4 separate regions of the Homo sapiens genome follow, and all the other regions are linked to region 4. The links are contacts of gene promoters, found by promoter capture Hi-C in blood cells and fetal thymus (Javierre and others, 2016). All regions are on one chromosome and are shown on one strand. Each heading gives the region's core, a stretch centred on a gene start or on the middle of the fragment in contact. The rest is flanking DNA. Distances are from core to core; before and after follow the strand shown.

What was found. Contacts are between HindIII fragments. The CHiCAGO score rates a contact against its expected background, and 5 or more counts as called.
Region 1: a contact is called between a fragment that was not itself captured here and the fragment with the promoter of SIDT2 in region 4, in 3 of 17 cell types (total CD8 T cells, naive B cells and naive CD8 T cells). The highest score is 5.8, in total CD8 T cells.
Region 2: a fragment that was not itself captured here is called in contact with the fragment with the promoter of SIDT2 in region 4 in 1 of 17 cell types (neutrophils); the score reaches 5.3 in neutrophils.
Region 3: a contact is called between a fragment that was not itself captured here and the fragment with the promoter of SIDT2 in region 4, in 1 of 17 cell types (neutrophils). The highest score is 5.6, in neutrophils.

What each region holds. Positions count from the first base shown.
Region 1 is chr11:116,888,319-116,891,018 of GRCh38, reverse strand. The region is part of intron 6 of SIK3 (SIK family kinase 3); the gene reads left to right. Among named protein-coding and RNA genes, the nearest start is that of APOA1, 52 kb to the right of the region's middle. RefSeq lists an enhancer at 392-451. The HindIII fragment of the contact is 1,817 bases long and covers 399-2,215 here.
Region 2 is chr11:116,726,955-116,729,677 of GRCh38, reverse strand. No RefSeq gene overlaps it. Among named protein-coding and RNA genes, the nearest start is that of BUD13, 45 kb to the left of the region's middle. The HindIII fragment of the contact is 1,120 bases long and covers 766-1,885 here.
Region 3 is chr11:116,804,221-116,806,920 of GRCh38, reverse strand. No RefSeq gene overlaps it. Among named protein-coding and RNA genes, the nearest start is that of LNC-RHL1, 8.6 kb to the left of the region's middle. The HindIII fragment of the contact is 3,075 bases long and covers 1-2,700 here.
Region 4 is chr11:117,177,214-117,180,098 of GRCh38, reverse strand. SIDT2 (SID1 transmembrane family member 2) reads right to left here and starts at 1,356. Exons shown (of 26, transcript NM_001040455.2): 1 at 653-1,356. The coding sequence starts at 835. It also overlaps a transcript of PAFAH1B2 not described here. RefSeq lists an enhancer at 1-67 and a silencer at 1,048-1,257. The HindIII fragment of the contact is 6,932 bases long and covers 1-1,501 here.

The sequences.
Region 1 (2,700 bases), core at 58-2,557, 290 kb after region 4:
ACTTACCTTACTATGTACAGTGCATTTCAATATATTTTATTCTATTCCATTTTAAAAAATGCTGATTTCGACTTACTAAATTGATCTCCTATCTGCTATTTCAGAAACAATGACATAGAAATACCTTTATAACCTGACTCCTGCCTAGCTCTTCAGCCCCAGCTCCCACTCTCCCACCAGTCACCCTAATTTTCTTCTCGTTCCCTGAACAAGTTCTGTTTTCTGGAGCATTTCCCACTGCCGAGAATACATCTTCCCTATCCCACCCCACTCCACCCACTCCTGTATTCTAGAATTCAGAATAAAAAAAATTAGATTGGATAGAAATAAGAATCTAGATAATTTCTATTCACTCTTCATGTCTCTAAACTTTCTCTTATCGTGGTGCTTACCAAGCTTTATATTGTAACTACTTCTTTCATTGTATGTCTTCCACACCAGACTGAACTTAGTGAAAGTACAGACGAAACATGTCTTTTTCACAACTGTCAATAACCTACCACAGGATCTGGTGTGTAGTAGGACTTAGTAAATATGAAATCTGAATCAGAACCACCCCATCCCCAGTGGCATTTGTTTACATTCAGAATAAAATTCAAGGAGTCATTATTACTATGGCCTACAAGGCACAGCTGTCATTGCCCCTTCTTTGGTCTCATTTCCTGTTACTGTTCACCTCCGGTTCTGAGCTCCAGTCACAGGGCCTTCCTTGCTGTTTCTCAGACTTGCCAAACACATACATTCCCCTCAGAGAGGAGTCATAGGTCCCCTCAGAGAGGCCTGTCCTGGCTACCCCCATCATTCTCTTTCTGTAATTCTGCTTTTTCTTCATAGCACTTACTTTATTGTCTCCTCACCTCCTATCACCACTTGACCATAATAAGCATTTGGTTTTTGTTTACTGTTATGTTCCCAGGGCTTTGGACGGTGCCTGAGTTCTAGTAGGCACTCAGTAAATATTTGTTGAATGAATTAATGCATAGGGTTGTTCGAACACTGACTCCAAAAGCCCCTCTGGAGAGTAGTCTTATCCAAATCATAATATCAGTAGTAATATCAAATAATTACATTTGTTTAGGGCTTTTGAGTTTATAAAATAATTTCTTTTTTAATAGGTTTATTTTTTGAGACAGGATCTCTGTCGCCCAGGCTGGAGTGCAGTGGCGTGATCTTGGCTCACTGCAGCCTCCGCCTCCTGGGCCCAAGCCATCCTCCCACCTCAGCCTCCTGAGTAGCTTGGTCTACAGGCGCACGCCACCACGCCCACCTAATTTTTGTATTTTTTTGTAGAGATGGGATCTTATTATGTTGCCCAGGCTGGTCTTGAACTCCTGGACTCAAGCAGTCCGCCCACCACGGCCTCCCAAAGTTTTGGGATTACAGGTGTGAGCCACTGCACCCAGCCAATATATTTTTTAAAAATATTTCAATTTTTCAGTTTTTATATTTTTGGCGACAGGGTCTTGCTCTGTCACCTAAGCTAGAGCCTAGTGGTATGACCATAGCTCACTGTAGCCTCAAACTCCTGGGTTCAAACAACCCTCCTACCTCAGGCTCCAAAGTAGCTAGGACTATAGGCCTGTGCCACCATTCCAAGCTAATTTTTTAAAAGATTTTTTGTAGAGATGAGTCTCACTACATTGCCCAGTCTGGTCTTGAACTCTTGGCCTCAAGCAATCCTCCCACCTTGGCCTCCCAGAGTGCTGGGATTATGGGCAGAAGCCAGCATACGCAACCTAAATTATTTTCTTTTACTTAATCTAATTTGAGCTACATAACTATATTTTAGAATAGGTAATAGCACATATTTTATCATCTTGCTGATGAAGTTTTGGAAGCTGAAGTTTAGAGAAATGAGTTAACTTGCCAAAGCCACACAGGTAATAAGTAACTAGGTCAGTATTCAAATTTAGTGTTTGTTTTACTACACCATACTGTTGCAAAAAGAGCAAGATAAACCACTTCCTTTACTTTTCCAATGTCCACAGTGTTTCCTGTGAGCAACTTGGATCTTTTCTATCCTCCACCCCCATCACCTCACACCATGGCAAGAGATTCTTACTGAACCCTTCCCGGAGCCGGCTTCAGATAGGGGGTCCTAGAAAACAGCTAAGCATGCTGTCAGCCACACTGTCTATTAGTGCTTAGAAATAAACTAACAGTCTAACTGCTTAGAACTATTATTTGTAATATGATGTTAGTTAACCTGAAAGCTTCAAGACTCAGAGAAAGCCAACAGGATTATCCTAAACGTAGTCGCTCTTTAATCCCAGTTAAATAATTCCCTAAGTAGCAATACAAGTTTTTGTATGATTAGTACAGAGAATGAGAAACAACCAGGGTAGGAAGTCAGTAGATACTTGCTATATTACCAATATGATCTCTCTGGCCCTTGGTAATATACATGTGCTTGGCATTGCTGAATGTCATAGGCCTAAATCCCAAGGCCCATTAGAGAATACTTCAAAAGGATAAGGCATAGCAGAAAATGAATTCATCGGTTATTTAGGCTTTTCTTAGCTTAGACAACCTTCAAGTACCAGAAAGTGTCAGGTGAAGGAAGTTTAGAGTCTGTCCCAGAGTCCTTTTTCTGCTTACGCCTCGTGTTTCTGGGCACAGTTGTATCTCAGTAGACCTGGAGCATAGTCTTCTGATGGAGGCGAGTGCTGGCTGCTTTTCAGCCTGTGAGGCCAGCTGCTA
Region 2 (2,723 bases), core at 76-2,575, 450 kb after region 4:
GACAAAACATACCAGCCAGCCACAGTACAGCTTCCCCCTGCCAGTCCCCGAGCCCTGAACTCTGAGCAGGAGGGGATGGGACTGGGTCTAGGCTCAAGGAAAGGTGGCTGATGATGGGAAATCCATCTCCCTGCTCCACCCCCAGTCACCATGGACCTTAGGGAGATGGTCTTCCTTGTCCAGAGAAGACCACAGAATAAGCTGGGAGGTGAAGAGCCTGGTGAAGAGCTTTTGCTCTTCAGAGGAACAGTGGATGCTGGAAATTCTGGCAGTTGGGAAGGCTTCTGGACAGGGCCAAGGTGGGAATCTGGCCTTTGAAAGATGTAGAGGACTCAGAAAAGAGGGTTGGAGGTGAGAAATAGAGAGAATAGCATTATCCAAGTCTTTACCTTCTCTCTAAGAGCCCAGATTTTCCTAACGGGGCTAAGAAGCTGAGGTTTTCACAGGCCAAAGGCCCAGCCTGTGTGTCCCTAAATTTCTCTTCCTGAGACTGTGGTGTAAAATTAATTTTTTTTTCCTGGTGAGGGTTTGGAGGTGAGAAAGGTTTATTTCTGTTTCAGGACTCACGCAGTTATCCCAGGGTTAATAACCTGCACACAGCCTTGTCACCACAGCCACTAGTGCCCCTCTTCCCACCCCCTCTCTGCCAGCCTCATGTCTTCACTCTGGTTCCTGGGTTTCTCTAGTCCCTTTCTGATTCCTGGAGGAGGAAAGTTCTTTCCTATTGGGACTGCAAGTCCACCCCTCTGACTTCTGGCTAAAGCTTCCTGGACTCTGAAGGCTCTCCCTTCACTGTGAACTGTTTAGCCATAGCTGCCAACCTTCAACAAACTCCCTTCTCCATCTCCTCTCTTTGCCCGCTCCTGACTCCTGCCCTATGCTACCCTGAACCCCTCCTGGGTTCTTATTCTGTTTTTCTTTTGTTTTGGTTTCTCTGGGGCTCTGCTGAGGCAGCAAAGGGTGATGGGGTATGGTACTGATTCTGTGTTTACCTTGGACAAGCTATATCACCTCTCTGTTTCCTCATTGTTATAACTGGGAAAATGCTACAATCTCATGGAATCTTTCACTTTCCCATCTTCATCAGTTCATTTATTCCATCAAGACTTCACTTCTACGCGTCAAGTGCTGGGGATGCAAAGCTGCAGATGGTCTCAAGGAACGCGAGCCCTGTTGGGAGGCAGATAAAGGAACAGCACGCGCAGAGGCCCGGAGGAGGGAGGAGAATAGAAGTGTGGAGACTGGCAAGGGATTTGGGATGGCAGGAGGACAGGTTGCACTGGGGAGTGGTAGAGTTGGAGGCCTTTTGTTCCCTGGAATTTCAATACGATTTTGTGGGCTCTGAGCAGGTAAGAAAGGACTTTGTTGGGGTGGCAGGCAGGACTAACACTGTGTTTTAGAAAGATCGTTTTGGCAGCAGTGTGGAGATGGGCAAGGCTGGAGGCAGGGTCCCCACCCAGAGGCAGCTGCTGCTGTCTGTATGAAAGACGATGAACTGCAGCCATCAGGTGTGGCTCAAGAGTCACGGGAAGAGGAGAGAGCTTTGTCATGAGTCAGAAAAGGCAGGATGCAGCATCTCAGTGACTGTGAGGGTGACCGAGGGGGCGTCTTGGGTGACACCTGGGTTTCTGGCATGGAGCAATGCTCTTCTTTGAGAAGAGGGATCTAGGGAAGAAGGAGAGATGATGATGGTGTTGCTTTGGGAATCCTGGGAATGACCACCCTGGGTTTAGTTGCCTGGGACGGAGTGGGAATTGAATATCTGCTATTGAATATTTGATATTGAACATGCTGAATTTGGCGCTTCATCTGCCTTGCCTGTTTTATTTCTCACTCTGACCATACCTAGATCTTTTGAAAGGAGGCTTGACCCTATCCTGAAGCTTGACCCTGACCTTCTACCTTTCAACATTTTGGTTAGCGGGCGCCTGCTTGCGGACTTTCTGAGATGCACTTCTCAGTTATTCAGCTGTGTCTACATTCATTCCCACAGGCTCTGGGCAGGTTGGAAGAACCCACATTTGACCCTATGGCATTGGACTTGGGTTGTTGCTACCTCTATTCTGTGCCATGGGGAAGAAGGCTCTTCTCTGCTGAGTCCTAACAGGCAGATACTGGCTGTAAATCCTTTCTAGACCCCTCCCCAGTGCCCACGCTCTGAGGCTACTCGGAGGGCGGTGTGTTGTTGCTGAGACCCCTGAATCGCACTACTTCAGGCTGTCCCCTCACCTCGGGGGTGGAGATAAGGCCTGGGGTCTGAGTTTGAGGGGACTGATGCCAGGCAGGGCTCCTAGCAGTAAGGTGGAACTGCTTCCCTCCTCAGAGCGACTTTCTAAACCAGCTTCCCATTCCTCTGAGGCTGCCGCCACCCCTGGGAAGCACACATTTGTGGTTGCCGAACAGTTGAAGGGCAGTGGCTCTTTCTTCCAGGGCAGTGTGGGCCTGCCTCTGGCTCCCCCGGGAGGGCTGCACCCCCACCCACCTGTGCCCCTCATTAAGAGTAAACAGCCCAGAGTGCAGCACTTGGTGGGACCCATGAAGACCCCACCAGGAGTCCCTAGTGGTCCCCAGTGTCTCCATTATGCCCTCTGCAGTTCTCACAGTGCCCTAGGAAAGTCCATGTGCTTTTGCTCTCCAGAGAGCTCCTGGTCACTTTCTAATATGTCTCCAGCAACTCAGCATTATCAGTATTGCCCCAATATCTCTTTGATGGAATCCCTATC
Region 3 (2,700 bases), core at 45-2,544, 370 kb after region 4:
AATAAAGCATTATTTCCCACAAGCCCTATGAGGCAAGTATTATCATTATTCCCCTTTTACAGAGTTTGAGGCTGGGTGCAGTGGCTCATGCCTGTAATCCCAGCACTTTGGGAGGCCAAGGCGGGAGGATCACTTGAGCTCAGGAGTCTGAGACCAGCCTAGGCAATATAGTGAGACCCAATCGCTACAAAAAATTTAAAAATTAGCTTGGCAGGGTGGCACATGTCTGTGTTCCCAGGGACTCAGGAGACTGAGGTGAGAGGATCGCGTGGGCCCAGGAGGTGGAGGCTGCAGTAAGTTGTGATTGGTGATTGCACCACTGCACCCAGCCTGAGTGACAGAGTGAGACTCTGTCTCAAAAAAAAAAACGAAAGAAAGAAAACAAAAGAAAGAAATGGAATCACAGAGAAGTTAATTTGCCAAAGGTCACAGAACCAATAAGTGGCAGGACTTCGACCCAGCGGACTAGTCCCAGAGACAATGCCTTGTGGGCTCACTTAATCTATTTAATTTGATAGTGATTACTGTTTTATTTATGTCATATTATTTTGTATTTTCATTTTACTATGATATTTCTTTGCTTCTTGTATCTTCCTGCTTGCTTCTCTGTTGGTTTTGTGTTCCTTTAAAGACTAATTTCACACCTTTTAAAAAATTCAGTTAAAAAGTTCAAACTGCACATAAAGAGTCAAACAGAGCCAGGTGTGGTGACTTATGTCTGTAACCCCAGCACTTTGGGAGGTCGAGACAGGGGGATCACTTGAGGCCAGGGGTTTGAGAGCAGCCCGGGCTACATAGCAAGGCTTCATCTCTCCAAAAAATTGTTTTTTAAAAAAGAGTCAAACAGATCTACAAGTTAGTTTAAAATAGCAGCAGTATCTCAACCCCCACCTCTATTTTTCACTCTACAAAAACAACTACTGTCAACTGTTTTTTTGTTTCGTTTTGTTTTGTTTTTTTTTGAGACAGAGTCTCACTCTGTCACCCAGCCTGGAGTGCAGTGGTACAATCTTAGCTCACTGCAACCTCTGCCTCTCAGGTTCAAGCGATTCTTCTGCCTCAGCCTCCCATGTAGCTAGGATTACAGGCATGTGCCACCATGCCCGGCTAATTTTTGTATTTTAAGTAGAGACAGGGTTTTACCATGTTGGCCAGGTTGGTCTCGAACTCCTGACCTCAGGTGATCCACCCTCCTCGGCCTCCCAAAGTGCTAGGATTATAGGCCACCGTGCCCGTCTGACATTGCCTCTTTAGAAAGAAGTGCAGTTCATCTTCACTGATGAGGGAGCTTTTCTTCATAGAATAACATCAGCTGAAATATATAAAAGAAATAGTAGAATTAGAACATTCTCATTCTGCAACTCTTCTAATGTAATAATTAATTCAGGCAAAAATCTTGAATGTATGCTATGTTCATCAGGTTGCCAAGGTATTTTAAGATGCCAAAGTATCCCAATTCTGTTACTTGTTAATTACAAAGGGAAATAACCTATCTTTCCAACCAAGAGGTCTGCTAGTGACCACCTCACGAAGTGAAAAAACTAAGGATTGCTATTAGTGGGACAAGTAGCCATTGTGTACCTCCTGATATGACATCATGTGAACTTCTCACTTCACCTTTAAGTATTCTTAGCCAGGCACAGTGGCACATGCTTGAAATCCCAGCACTTTGGGAGGCTGAGGCAGGGGGATCGCTTGAGGCCAGGATTTCAAGACCAGCCTGAGCAACATGTCAAGACCCCCACCTCTACAAAAAATTAAAAAGTTAGCCAGGTGTGGTGGTCATGCCTGTAGCCCCAGCTACTTAGGAGGCTGAGGTGGGAGGATCACTTGAGCCCAGGAGTTTGAGGCTGCAGTGAGCTATGATCACACCACTGCACTCCAGCTGGATGACAGAGCAAGACCCTGTCTCAAAAAACAAAACAAAACAAAAAACACCGAAAAAACCCCACAGTAAATTAGAAGAAAGCTGCATAAATTAGAAGAAGCTGATGTGAAATCCTGAGTCCATGGTTCAATTTAGGAGGGACCATCTGGAGAGCAGGGAACCCCCAAAAGTCAGTTTCTTTAGGCCTATTTCCTTGGGCCAGCCAAATTTCTCAGGGAGAATGTTGTTCCATTTTCAATATGGGGAAAGATGGTGAACTGAGGAGTCTTTTAAAAAAATTTATTTTTGAGATGGGGTCTCATTCTGTCGCCCAGGCTAGAGAGCAGTAGCATGATCATGGCTCACTGCGGTCTCTAACTCGTGGGCTCAAGTAATCCTTCTGCCTCAGCCTCCTGAGTAGCTAGGACCACAGGTGCCACCATACCTGGCTAATTTTTGTATTCTTTGCAGAGACTGGGTCTCGCTACATTGCCCAGGCTGGTATCGAACTCCTGGGCTCAAGCGATCCTCCTGCCTTGCCTTCTCAAAGTGTTGGGATTACAGGCATGAGCCACTGTGCCCAGCCTCAAAATTTAATGTATAAAGTTTTCCTTAATTTTTCTTAGCACAAAAACCCTGGCCCCCAACAATACCTAGTTTTCTCCAGGCCGGAGTCCCACTCTTTTACCCTTTTCAGAGAGAATAAGCATCTGGTTTTCTGCTGCTTTGGGGGTACCCAGCCAAGTAGAGTTGAAGAGAACAGCTGCTTCTCAAACAGACTCTCGACCAACTGCCATATTTCTAGTCCCACTGCCACCCACTCTTCCAGAAGA
Region 4 (2,885 bases), core at 107-2,606:
CCACACTAGCTGTGTCTATTTCAACTCAGGGACTCACAGCTGGTGAAGAAACCAAAGAGAAGTCAGGGTGAAGTGGATTTTTCACAGTGGACAAATTCCCCTTCTCTTCCCACCCAACTTGCAGTTGGCCTTATAAAACCTCTGTCACCCTCAATTTACAAGGCCAGCTGGCTCTCCCAGGCAGGAAGAGGGCTGGGAAGCCCTGCATTCATCTCCCTGGGGAGTCTGAGATGTAACTTGCCTGCACAGAGCTTTTCAGTTCTGGGCCAGTCTCATTCCCCTGAGGTTTTCTGGGCAAGCCCAGTAATAAGCCTGTTTCCTCTCCCACCGAGACCCCACAGAGCTGTCAGATTCTGGGGTTTAGGGTAGAGAGCAAGCCATGTGTGCTCAGACCACAACTGATGGAAGAATGGGGGCGGAAGAGAAGATGGGAATGAGCCAACTTCAAAAACTGCCCAGCTGGAGCTTCAGAGAAACATTGGTGGCAAAGGAAGGAGGACTGGTCAAGAGGCTCCAGTGTGGTTCTGGGAACTGGGAACCTAGCAGGACAGCTCGTTCCTGGGGCCTCCCAAAAGGGTAGCGGGGCGGCAGAATCGCCTAGCCCTCGTCGGCTTCCCCACTCGCCTCTGGCCCCTAAGCCCCCAGCCCTCACCCTGTTGCGGGTCACAGTATGGTTGAAGGTGTAGATGTTGACCAGCTCGCTGTTGACCTCGTCCACGTAGGTGCGCTCAAACTCGGCGTCTTTCTGCGAGACGTTCTTGGGCCCCAGAACCCCCAGATGGCTCTCGACCGAGGCCACCAAGAGCACCAAGAAGGGCAAGCCCAGAGCGAACATGGCCCCGGCAGGGCGGCAGTGGCAGCGGTGGTGGCGGCGGCGGCGGCGACAGGAGACAGGACACCTCCGGGACGGGTTGCGGCTGCGGCCGCAGCTTCCAGCATCTCACCAGGACCAGAACTTTAACCCCGGCCTGAGATTAGGAAATGTCCCCTCCCAAGAGCCCCGAAGAGGCTCCCAGGGTCCCCGCAGGGGAGGGGGCGGCCGGGAGGGGGCGGGGAGGGAGGGGATGCTGGCTACGGGAAGGGGTCCCAGCTCGCGAGGGGCTGAGTACGACCTGAGACCCTGGAGCCCCGGGCCAGGGCCGTGAGAAGGAGGGCGGCTGGTTGCCGGGAGCCTGGAGACGCCGGGAAAGGGGAGGGAGGAAGAGCCGGCGGCGGGGGCTGGCCGCGGAGGAAGGCGAGTCGCAGAGTGAGGGGCGTGATAGGTGGTAGCTACCCGACGCCGTGCTGGGCTGCGAGTTTTCCGAGGTGCGGGCCCTTTAAGGGCGGGCGGACGCGCCGTCCCGACGCACGAACACTGAAAAGTGAGCTGCGCCGCTGGGCGATAAACAGCAGGGCTGCTGGCCCGCCCGCTGACGTCAGGGGAAACTGACACAGATTTAAAGGACCAGGTCCCGCATTTGCCCTTAAAGGGGCTGCAGCTGTCTAGCTGAAGGGGAAAGCTTGCAATGCCTTCTCCAACTCCTACCCAACTCTCTCCCGTGATTTTCACCATCTCTGAAACTCACGTTGGAATAGGCAGATGTTTCTGTTAACAATCTCCAAGTGTTGGGTTCTTGCTGAACAACTCTTACATTTGCTCAAACATAAGGATTCCCCCACCCCCACCACCACCTTTACAACTAACATCGTCCAACCCTGGGCCACTTTTTCTCCGGGGATCTTAAAAAATGAAAAACTCGAAGGATTAGGAAACAGGACGGTGGCCCTACCGGCGGAGGGGAAACGGAGGCAGCACTGCAGGAGGAATCCCCATGCCTTTCCCACCTCCCTCTAGAGGGGCCACACAACTGCAGGGACGGCCTTCCGAGCTTTCCAAGCTTGCCGGGCTGTTTCCCCTCTTCTCTCAGAGACAGTTACAAAACTCATTGAAAGATACTGACCTTCAGTGTAAATTGGTGAAAACTTTTCTACAAAATATTTTGGCACTGTTTCAAGAAACTTAGAGAGCTTTATACCCTTTGATCCAGTAATTCCACTTCTGGACTCTATCCTAAGGAAATAGGAAGCACAGATAAAAATACCTGGGCAGCTACGCTTATCACTGTGATATTTATAATATAAAGCAAAAAGGAAATGACTTGGATATCCATAATGAGGGATTGGTTAAATGCACTATCATGAAGGCATCAAAAATGATGCTTAAGACTTCACAGGACACGTAAGCAGAGAATTCAGGATATGACACTAAATAAACAGTATATAGAGCCAGGTGCCGTGGCTCACACGTGTAATCCCAACACTTTGGGAGGCCAAGACAGGTAGATCACTTGAGGTCAGGAGTTCGAGACCAGCCATGGCCAACATGGTGAACCCCATCTCTACTATAAAAATACAAAATTAGTGGGGCGTGGTGACGCGTGCCTGTAATCCCAGCTACTGGGGAGGCTGAAGCAGGAGAATCGCTTAACTCTACCAGGCGGAGGTTGCAGTGAGCTGAGATCATGCTCCTGCACTCCAGCCTGGGCTGCAACAGAGCAAGACTCTGTCTCAAAAATAAATAAGTAAATAAAACCGTATATATTCCAAATGCATATAGACATGCATAGAAAAATAGAAAAAAATTGTACTAAACATTTAGCAATGTCTCCAGAAAGCAGGGCAAATTTTAAAAATAAAATTTAGCAGTAGTTATCTTTGAATTACAATTTTAAAAATAACACATATTGTATATCATTTTCCTTTAATTCTAAAAATATAGAGTAGTACCAAAAAATAAAAAATAATGGATTGTGAGTGGTTCTTAAATTTTATTTTTTATATTTAAAAAGATTTACAAATGTTCTACAATGTATATATATTTATATATTGCTTTTTTATCTGCCGGG